Regions from separate parts of the Homo sapiens genome. Here region 1 is linked to region 2. Evidence: promoter capture Hi-C in 16 types of primary human blood cells and fetal thymus (Javierre and others, 2016). All regions are on one chromosome and are shown on one strand. Each heading gives the region's core, a stretch centred on a gene start or on the middle of the fragment in contact. The rest is flanking DNA. Distances are from core to core; before and after follow the strand shown. Region 1 holds the start of F13B (coagulation factor XIII B chain). Region 2 holds the start of CFH (complement factor H).

Evidence for each region. Contacts are between HindIII fragments. The CHiCAGO score rates a contact against its expected background, and 5 or more counts as called.
Region 1: the fragment with the promoter of F13B here is called in contact with the fragment with the promoter of CFH in region 2 in 5 of 17 cell types (naive CD8 T cells, neutrophils, M2 macrophages and 2 more); the score reaches 10.8 in naive CD8 T cells.

Annotation. Positions count from the first base shown.
Region 1 is chr1:197,062,750-197,068,877 of GRCh38, forward strand. F13B (coagulation factor XIII B chain) reads right to left here and starts at 4,511. Exons shown (of 12, transcript NM_001994.3): 1 at 4,411-4,511; 2 at 108-308. The coding sequence starts at 4,474. RefSeq lists an enhancer at 5,619-6,128. The HindIII fragment of the contact is 18,133 bases long and covers 3,760-6,128 here.
Region 2 is chr1:196,648,164-196,653,757 of GRCh38, forward strand. CFH (complement factor H) reads left to right here and starts at 3,880. Exons shown (of 22, transcript NM_000186.4): 1 at 3,880-4,012. The coding sequence starts at 3,955. The HindIII fragment of the contact is 3,367 bases long and covers 1,390-4,756 here.

The sequences.
Region 1 (6,128 bases), core at 3,261-5,760, 420 kb after region 2:
TTATCTACTAAAAGGTTTAACCGCTTTCCATTTTTATTGGACCCCTATTTTTATATACAAATTTCTTTGAGTATTGAAACATTGAGTGACATATCCAGCTGACTTACTGAAGCACCTTGGCTCTGGAGACCAGCCTTCTGTTGTACACGTGGTTTGCTCTTCTTGTCTTCCACTTTCAGTGGTATAACCAGCCAAGCAGAAAAATGACAATTTTTTGTCTATGCTCATTGGAAAGTAAAAGCTTTTAAAAGTATAGTAATATTGGGCAATTCTTCCATTTTCCACATGAGGAAAACCACAGGGTTTCTCTGAAATGAGTAAATGTCAAGCTGAAAATGGAAAAACAAATCTAAAAACATAAATTTGTAATCAGGTGACAATACAAACTAAAAGTTTTTAGAGACACTTCAACTAGTACTTATTTTTCTTACTTAAATTTTTAAGGTACTTTTGTGACAACTCAAGCAGTCCTTTTATCATAATTGATCTGCAAATGACTTTAAACATCCAACAGTCATGATAAAATTTAGCAGACCACTTTTTCAGGGAAGCTTTGCATAACTTCGTAGAACAGTACTTTTTTTTTTCTTCCTAGACACAGAGTCTTCCTCAGTTATCCAAGCTTCAGTGCAGTGCTGAAATATAGCTCACTGCCACCAGGAGCTCCTGGGCTTAAGCAAGCCTCCTCTCCTGTAGCTAGGACTGCAGGCACATGCCACCACATCTGGCTAATTTTTGTTTTATTTTTTGTAGAGATGAGGGGTCTCACTCTGTTGCTCACGCTGGTCTCAAACTCCTGGACTCAAAGGATCCTTCTGCTTTGGCCTCCCAAAGCACTAGGATTACAAGACTTGAACCACTCCACCCTGCCTGCACTTCCTAATAGATATGTATTGTAAGTCACTTATGTAATTTAAAAATTTCTAATAGTCACATTCATAAAAATACTAAGGAACAATTGAAGTTAGTTTTAATAATAGGTTTTTATTTAACCCAATATATTGAAAATATTTTACATTCTTTTTTTTTCTAACTCTTTAAAATCCACTACATATTTATACTTACAGAATATCTGATCTTGAACTAGTGACATTTTAAGTACTGTCTCCAATAGCTATATGTGGCTGATGGCCACTGTATTGGACAGTACAGTTCAGGAATAGGTAAAGTTTCTCCTTAACATATGCTAACTCATAAAAAATTTTGAAATAAATAGCATTAAAAGAAAAAACAGACAACCAAGTAAAACAAAGCAATACTTGGCAAGAACTTGGCAAAATAGGATATTTAAATGGTTAGAGACCTGGTACTTAGCATTACTAGTCATCAGGGAAATGAAAATTTAAACCACCATGAGATACTACTGCATATCCAATAGAACTGCTGAAATGAAAAAGACAAGCTATCTCAATGATTGTGAAGAAGTGAAGAAACTGGAACTCGCATATTTCTACAACTGAAAGTATAAATCAGTCCAAACTCTATGAGAGAACACCTTTGCAATATATATTGGGGTAAAACATGTACAAACCATATTACCCAATAAAAAAAGCACATATTTGTATACCAAAAGACATGGAAAAAAATGCTTATAGTGGCAGTATTCATATAGTCCCAAACTGGGAACAATCTAAATGCCCATAAATAATAGAAAAGATAAACACATTTTAGACTATGCATACAATGGAATATTATCCAACAACAGAAATGAACAAATGGTGAATCTCATAAACATAATATTGAGTGAAAGAAGCCAATCACATATGAATTAATGTATACATTTGCATAACTTTTTAAAAGAAAACAAACTAATCCATGATAATAGAAGTCAGAATGGTTACCTTTGGGGTTTAGTGCCTTAGAAGGATCATATTTCTGGGGTACTATCACTGTTCTATATCTTGATCTGGATGGTGTAAAATTTTGTAAAAACTATATAAGTGTATCCTGTGATTTTTGCATTTTTCTGGATATGTTATACTCCAAATAAAACATATATTTTAAAAATATATCTTTATGTTGAAGATCTTAAAGTCATAAAAACACTTAAAAGAAAGAAATGCTCGAACAATCCTAGGAGCTGTGGTGGGAAGAAACATGGGCAGTCATGGATGGAAGAAGGCCTAGATCCAGTGTGATTACTACGGCTTCAATGCCTTGGTTGATCACTGTATACCTTAATGCTACTATGAGACATAAAATACTAGTAGTGCTAGCCTAGGTTTGAAGGAAATGGATGTGGAATGATGAGCAACAAAACTTCCACTATCTGATGGAGCAGACAGAAAAACATGGGCTGGATAGTCCCCATTCCTTGAGAATTATTCTCACCATTTTTTCACACCCAAGCACCAAAGGAATTTACAATAAAAAGAGTCTTCCAAAATAGCAGTGCAATGGTGAATACACAAGAAATTTCCCTGAGGGGCACAGTTGCTTGTCAGGGAGGGGCAGCAAAGTATTCTCTGCACAACAATCCTAGGTTGTGGCTTTAAAGACTCTCTGTCCTGGGACATCTCCCTCCACCACCAGGATAGGCACATTATTTGTTAAGGTAGCTGGAATGCCTTGGAGAATATGAATTCCTGACAAAAAATTAATGAGAAATGTGAGGAATATACTAATCACATATAAACCAGGAAATCACAGATGTCTGAACATATTAAAAAAAGTACATGAAGCGATGGACACACTTACTACTGATCAGAGAATGGTAAATAAATAAAAATGGGATATCACTTTATGAATAACCATATAGCAACCAGTACAAAAATGGACAATATGAGGTGTTGGTGAGAATGATGAGGAGCAACAATTTACATCCTCTCTCAGAGATGATATACTTCAAAACTGCCATTCTGCAAAAGTAATCTCTCATTACAGAAATCAAGTACAAGAATAGACTCAATAATGCTATCTGTGAGTGAATACAGACTGATGACATTCTTACAGAAAGATAAGTTGGTTATATTACAATATTCATTCCAGAGCTATTTGTGGTTGAGAGAGCTAGAGTAACATGTTAAAACATTGTAGTAGGTCCCAGGGGAAATGGACTTCAAGATTAGGAATAAGGGGATAAAATGTGTAAGTAAAGCAAGAGTGAGACCTTTCATAGGCCAATAATACTTGCATACCATGAAATGAGAAACACAATTAATTCAATTCTTGTCCCTGAAGTGCACAATGGGAGTTGAGAGAAGCATGCAAAAATAAAATCATTGTCTTGGTCTTCAAGCAGCTTACTTTTTTTTTTGTTGTGTAAAATAGCATTATAACCTTATAATAATTAGAAAATTAACTAGAATATTGCAATGTCTTTATGGTATAGATAACAGACAATTATATCTGCTGGTATTTCCCTATTTAGACAGAAAAATAAAATCAAAAGAAATTCATGCAAAAATCATCCTATTATAGAATTAAAAGTATAAAATAAGATTAATTCTGTGTCTTTCACTTTTATAATTTTAATTATAGATGTTTTGGTAGAAAATTTATAGTTAACTATTCAACTAAAACACAGTTAAAACTTATGTATTTAATTTCAACAAATTCCCAAAAATGTTTATTTTAGAAAAGCTGTATTGCTGTAGCTTCCTTCTTTGTATGTTCACTCTTGCTAATGCTAAGTGTCCTCCCTGGATTCTTCATCCTATGGCCTGATAATATTGATAATGTTCCTGAACAACATACCCATGTACACTGCCTAGCTTCCACTCGCACACTAATCTTACACATTGGGCAATCTGACTATAAAGCTTTCTAATAGGGAGTCCATAGGTATTGGTTTGTTTGGAAAGTCCTGATTTACATGTGTTGTCCAAACAGTTATTAATAGAGCCCCTCTTTTACTCTCTAAGTGTCCCTGTTTGTACAAGCAATTATATGGTTCACCTACTAATCACTACTTAATGTCTCCAACAAATGAATAATTCATTGTGATAAAAATCAAAGTCTCAAAAGTAAAAAATATTTATGGCTATTTCCTTTTCAAATTTCCCACATTAAACTCTCACCTTATGAACAGAATTAAAATTGTACAAGTTTTGTCAGTATTAGGAATGGATTCTAGCATAAATTTAGAATTAAAGTTAACATGTGACTTCGAAATGGACATATTGTTAACCTGAAAACCTTTTCGAAGTATTTAGATCCTGGTCTCCTATGCCCCCTAGAGATACAAGGGTTTTTGTTTTGTTTTGCTTTTCTGACTTATGCTACTGTAAGAACACTTTACTAATTTTGCTCAAAGGAAAAGGTCTAAATATTATAAAAAGTTATATTTATAAAATATGTTATAAAATTGATAATGAAAATAGAAGAGTATATTAAAACTTGAGTTGTATAAATATTAGAATCTCCATTTGTATGTTTTAGAGAATAAAGAATATTAAGAATTAATTTTACCTTCTGCATAGAGTTCTCCTGAGATTATCAATATGATGATAAAAGTCAGGTTTTTCAACCTCATCTTCAGTGGTGTGCTTCACAAAGATTTTAACAATTCTAAGCACTAGGAACTTGTCATTAAGTACACAATACTTCTCTTGAGGAAAAAGTTAATAATTTATAACCTCTGTCTAAGTCCTTTTGTAACGAGTCTTATATTTCACTTAAAATATTTTGAAATAATGTTAAAATAACACAACTATATTAATTGACATTACTTACCATGTCAGAGTCCAGTAAGAGCATGATAACTGATTAGGGCAACAATAGCAGCAGAATAAATAATAAATTATAGCAGCAGAATAAATAATACTAGGTAAATTTTCAACCTAAGTTCCCAATTGTAAATTCATAGAGTAAAGTTCACTTGAGGCCATAGATCTTTACTAATATTGATCAGGTAAAAAGATGAACTTAGGAACATGAGATAACAGATACCTGATGTTGAAATATGTTGTTGCCTAGACTGCACTCCTTAAAGAGATACAGAACCATAGTTGTCTCAATGATAGAATAGTATTACTTATAATAGTAGTGTTTGACATTTAGAGAGTTTTTACTTTGTGGCAGGTGGTGAGATCAGCACTGTGCTATATCAACATTCATTCATGAGAAATGTTTAGAACGTCCATGATAATGGCAGCACATGTAACAGTTTTGAGGTATTTAGCAGTGAAAAAACTGGATTAAAATTATTGCCCTCATGGAGTTTACATTCTAATGAGTTTTAATTTAAAATACAAAATAGGAAAAAATGGTGGATAGGAGGCAGGACTAACTTGCAGCTCCCACTTGGATGGACAGAGCAGGATGTGGAGACTCGCATTGTGAACTTTTGCTCCAAGAACTGCTGCAAGGATATAACAGGAAAGCCAAGATAATCCACAGACCCTCTGAAGAAAGTATATTGCTCCTGCATGACCCAGAAAATAGCCCACATACTGTGAATGCCCAAACTGTGAAAAGTGTGAAAGGGGTATTGTCCACCCCTGAACACACACCCTTGGGGAACCTGAAGGTCTAGATCACAGGAGAAGGATTTGACCTTACCTGGAGCTCAGACAATTTAGAGAGCTGAGCGAAATACAGGGGTAGAGGAAGCAAAGGGTAAAGCCCCATCGTCTCTGTGGGTCCCCAGAGAAGCCATTTCTGACTTGTCTCACAGGGGCTGCCGGAGGAACTGGGAAAAGACCACAGGGAGAAGGAAACCTCCAGCTGAACTTAGTAACAATTCCAACCGAACACAAACTTTCCTGTCCAGAACTCAGGAAAGGGCGTGAATCTGGTGTGCAGACTTAACAGGTAGGGAGGCACAAAAGTCTGGCTTGCATTCTCAGCTGGGAGGCTAGTAGCCTGGGGCAAGTTCTCAATCCTGCTCCCCTACTGCCTGGAAACAAATTCGGTGCTTTTTGGGGGAACACAGTAGAAGTGAGATTTGCTTGTTGGGTTGTGTGAGAGCTGGGTGAGGTCTGTAACTGCCAGCTTTCCCCCACTTCCCTGACAACCTGCATGACACAGAAGAGGCAGCCATAATCCTCCTGGGAAGGTAACTCCATTAACCTGGGAATCACACCCCCATTCCCCACAGAGCCACAACAAGCCCCACCCAAGAAGACTCTGAGCTCAGACATGCCTAACCCTGCCCCCACCTGATGGTCCTTCCCTACCCACCCTGG
Region 2 (5,594 bases), core at 2,630-5,129:
TTATCCACAAACATATATATGTGTGTGTGTACCTTCAATACTTTTACAGTATATGCATAATTGTAAAATAAATAAATGTGAAGCATACACTAGAGTACATATGTGAATATTTTACTATATTTTTAAACACATATTTTAAACACAGACCACTGGATTTGATACCTGGCTCCAGCAATGTCTTGTGACCTTAAGGGAGTTGCTAAAATGTTCTGTGGTTCAGTTCAGTCATCTATACCTTTGAAAGAGTAATAGTCTCCCATTTCATTGTGTTGCATTAAGTATTGAATAAATGTGCTTAGATCTGTGCCTGGTATATAATTAACACTCAATAATATTAATCTTAGTAAGTTTCTGGAATACTCTCCAAGTGATAATATTGCTATTAGAATAGAAACCACTATTGGAAATTTAAGCCCCAGGTAAAATGTTTGGATTCATACTCAAACAGATAAAACTAAGGAAGGAATAAAGAAGAAGTTTAAATGATCTAGTATGTCAACATATGTGTTATCAGTTAAATCAAATTAAACTTCAGAATGATAGTTCAGAATTCGAATTTGCTTGATTATTCATATATCCATGCTATTTTATTTCTTATTTTTCTCAGAACAAATGACTAAGTCTAACTCTTATTCCTTATATTTTTATTACAAAAATAAAAATAAAAATAAAATAAAATGTAAAATTCACATTGGAAGCAAAATTAGAGTTAGGGTGGGCCATTTAATATGAGAAAATGACCAATGCAAAAGAAGGATATCACAATTCTAAATACGTATGCAAGCATCATCATAGCCCTAAAATATATAAAGATTCACAGCATTAAACAGGGAAATACACAAATCCACATTTATAATGGGAGATGTAATACACCCTTTCAATATCTGATGGAATAATCAGACAAAAACATAATAAAAATACAAAAGATTTTAACAAATTACAAACTTGACCTACTGACATAGGTAGAATTTTGACTATAATGGGCCATAAAGAAAGACTCATCAAATTTTAAAACAGTGTAATTATTTAGAATATGAAATTAAAAAAGAAATCAATTTAAAAGATAACTAGAAAGCCAAAGTTCCCAGAAATTTACACTTTAGAAAAGTTTTAAAAATAAACTATTACAGTAAGAAGAGCTTGGTGATATAGACCCACACATATCCAGCACCTGACTTATGACAAAGGTGAAAGCATGTCAGTACAGAGGAAAGAATGATACTTTCGTTGAATAATGCTATAACAATTGGATATCTCTATTTTAAAAATGCATCTGGAGCTTTTTATTATGCTATACACAAAAGACAATTACAGTTGTTCTAAAGGTCTTAAATGTGAAAGATAAAATAATTCTTTTAGAAGAAAAGCATTGTGTTCTAGGACTAGGCAAGCTTTCATTAAATAGGACACATAATGCACTAGTCATAGAAAAAAATTGAAAATTTGCTCTATTTTAAAATTAAGGAATTCTTTTTATTATTATAAAAGACATGTAATACTGAATAGAAAGAAAACCCACAGACTGGAAGAAGGTATTTATAATACATATTAATAAGATTATTTTCATATCTAGAATATATAAGTAATTATATATAAACAGTTCCTACACTCCAATAAGTCAAAGACAAACAACTCAATAAGAAAAAAATATGCAAAGGATTTGAATAGAACCTTTACCAAAGAGGGTATCTAAATGACCAGTTACCACAGGAAAGTTTCTCAACTTCATGTTAAGGGCAGGAGACAGGGAAATACTGGGTAGAAGAGGGTGGTCCCCAAGCAAAGGCCCCACCCTCAAGCCTGAAGACCTGTGGCCCTAAATGAGGACAGGCATTTCAGGTTTCACACCCAAAAAGTTGCCTTTTGGCCCGCCATGCCCCGCTGTCGTACCCCCATATAAATCCCAAACTCCAAGCTCCAGAAGAGACCTACAAGTGAGGAGACGGAGAGGCAAGCCGACAAACAGGCCTGCGATGGCAGAATGACACAGCAGAGAAAGAGAGGAGGGACATCTGGACTCCGAGGGGAGTTTGGCCAGGGACGGGTGGAGAAGAGTCTGGCCACTGGGAGGCCTGACACTGGGCGAAGGTCACCTTCCCACTCCATCTTGCTGACAGCCACCTCCACCACTCAATAAAAAGTTGCCCTCATCCCTCGAGCCCCCGTGTGATCCGATTCTTTTGGGACACTGGGCAACAGCTGGGGATATAGAGGGCTATTTCACTGTCCCACTACCCATGAGATAAGGAAGAGGGTTTGTTGAGCTGATTAACACATAAACCATTTGCAGATGGCAAAGCTAAAGGAGCACACTGTAACATACGCCCACTTGGGCTTCGGAAATCGCAGACACCCACCCCTAGATGCTGCTGTGAGGCCAGAGCCCGAAAGCGCTCACTCCGGTTCCCGCACCGGTGCATCTGTGTGCTCCCCCTCCCCGTAAGGGGTTTGAGCTGCAGGGCGACCTAACTGGCAAGCCGCACACCTGTTGCATGTCCTTCAAGGGGAATCAGGGATCTCTCACATTTCAATTAGTCATCAGGAAAATTCATATTATAACCACGGAGAATTATTGCTTTGTGTTACCAGAAAAGCTAAAATTACAAGGATTAAAATTACCAAGTATCTCTGAGGGTATGGAGCAACTTGGACACTGCTGATAGAAATGTCAAGTGATGTCAAGTGTTATAATCCATTTGGAAAATTGTCTAATTTTATCCATTACACCTAAACATAAATTATGTCCCAGTGTTTCACTACCAAGTATGCACTTACCAGAAATGTGGATTGTGTTTACCAAAAACCTCATAATATAAGGCCCATAGCAGCACTATTCATACCAGCTCCAAACTAAAATCTGCTCAAATGCTCACTAACAGGCACACAGATAAATAAAATGTGAACTATTCAAAAAGTGGAGTATTAAATCGCAATAAGAATGAACTATCTGTAACTACATCTAACAATGTGTTTGAATGGTCCAAACACAATTTTTGGTGAAAAACTCTAAACATAAGAATAAACTGCTTCTTTTTCATTATACAAAGTACAAAAGCCAGACAAATATATTCCATGTTCTTGAAGATCAGAATCGTGGTCTCTGTGTGTGGGGGGTGTGGGAGAGGGTTGAGAGGCGTATTGACTGAAAAGGAGTACTGGGGTTTTCTGGGATGTAATAATGTTCAGTGTTTTGACCTTGGTGGTGGTTTCACAGGTATCTTTACCTTCTCAATATCCAGCATATGATTTATGTTTTCCTTATACATATTACACTACAATACAAAGTTTTAAAAATCAGCATTTCAATTTGTTGATTTTTGGATTATTAAACCTATTTACGTCAAATGAGAGTGAGCCAGTTGCTTCATACACATATACAAAAAGTATTTAGAAAACTAATTTCATAAATTGCTAGAAAAGCAGACCCCCAAATTCATCAAGCACTGCATTCTTGGCAAAGTTTGTACACATTGTCTGGGTGCTGATTGTGAAAACATTGCCTAAACCAAAGTTTTGTATGTGATTTCTTTTAAAGTTTCTCTTATTTCCTGTTCTGAGGTTTATACACAATAGACCCGAATAGAGTTTGAATAATTGAAGGGTTTATGAAATCCAGAGGATATCACCAGCTGCTGATTTGCACATACCAAGAACATGAACATTTTCCAACGGAGAATTTCCCTAGCTTAATAAGAAAAAGTCCAAGAGCCGGTCACAGCATTAACATTTAGTGGGAGTGCAGTGAGAATTGGGTTTAACTTCTGGCATTTCTGGGCTTGTGGCTTGTGGTTGATTTTTTATTTACTTTGCAAAAGTTTCTGATAGGCGGAGCATCTAGTTTCAACTTCCTTTTGCAGCAAGTTCTTTCCTGCACTAATCACAATTCTTGGAAGAGGAGAACTGGACGTTGTGAACAGAGTTAGCTGGTAAATGTCCTCTTAAAAGATCCAAAAAATGAGACTTCTAGCAAAGATTATTTGCCTTATGTTATGGGCTATTTGTGTAGCAGAAGGTAAGATTAAAAGAGACTCTTTTCTGAAAACTGTATTATGAAACATTTGCTAATGATGCTTTTCACAGGAGTAATAAAAATTTGATTTAGAAAATGTGCTTAAGTATTCTGTAACTTGACAATTGAGTGGCTTTTGACATTGTTGAGTTTAAAAAATGTAAGAACCTTATTTGAATGGTATATCTAAATATTCATCATAATTATATTTAATATAAAATAGAATAAAATGTTTTAATAAACATTTCTGAAAAACTATGATCTGGAATAATCATTTCCCTTGTAATTATCATAAAATGTAATTTACTTTTTTGCTTAGGAGTATAACCAAAATGTATTATGTGAAAGCATTAAGAAGGATGTGAATATACATAGTCAATAAAAGCCATCAAATCATAATGATTAGATTTATTTCAAATATGATTTTAACTCTTCCTAAATAAAAATTCATTTATCATTTACAACTGATATTGTCATGACCTTAGAATTCTTGTAGACAAGTATTACTTGTATTATCAGAATAAAAATATTATATAAATTTGAAACCCAATTGAATATACAATATTTGTAACAGTTAAGTTGTTCAATAGAGATTTTTTTCCTGTAGTTGTATATAACATATATTCTTGAAGAGCAGTCTTTTGGAGTAGTGAATATGAATGTAGGAGTTTTTTTCTGACCTCAGTAAGACAATTTCTGGATTCATAATAAAATTTAATTATATCACTGCTTCTTGATAGATTAAAAAGCTTATTCTTGGAGGAGGTTTGCTTTCCTAGTTTTTGATAGGTAACCAGTTATGTGATAGATATTTGGTAAACATTTTTAAACTGAATGAATTACATATTATTCATAATTTCTAAAATCTTTTCACTTAGTAAAGAAATTTTGATTGAGTGACCATTACATAGCCTCTAGGAACTGAAGAATATTAGCAAATAATACAAATCTCTGTTTCAGTCTTCCAATCTAGAAAATAAAAGCAGATATATTCTTATAGTTATACACTTTGGTAATTTAAAAAATATTCAAATATGTTTAATACCTTTTGAAAGGTTGAATTATTTTCAGTTATATTTTCTAATGTTATTGCTTGTTCTTTGGCTTGTAAACTTTATATGTAGCCACTTTTTAAATGAAGAAAACAATTATTTCCTTGTACATATAAATATTATAATTAGTATTTTAAAATGAAACCTTTTTGTATTTACAAACAGTTCCAGAACAATGTCAATATTACCTATTGTAAAAGACATCTTTTTCTGTTTCTTTGTGTAAATATTTCTGTCTTTTCTTACTAAATTTATGGGAATGTTTCTAACGTTTCATACCTACATACTGTTTGCTCCAGTTTTACATAGATACCATTTGTCATATAAGGGAGATTTGTTTTATTTCTAATCTTTAAAATCAAGAATCAATGGCAAGTTTAATAAACAGTTTAAGTTATTAAAAAGTTGAATTTGAAATATTATTAAAATAGAGTACATCAAAGTATATGTGATAATTAAACAATAGTGATTTAAACATCTTATTTACATAATTGATTATTGCTGACTTGTTTCACTTTTATTTTATTTTTCAT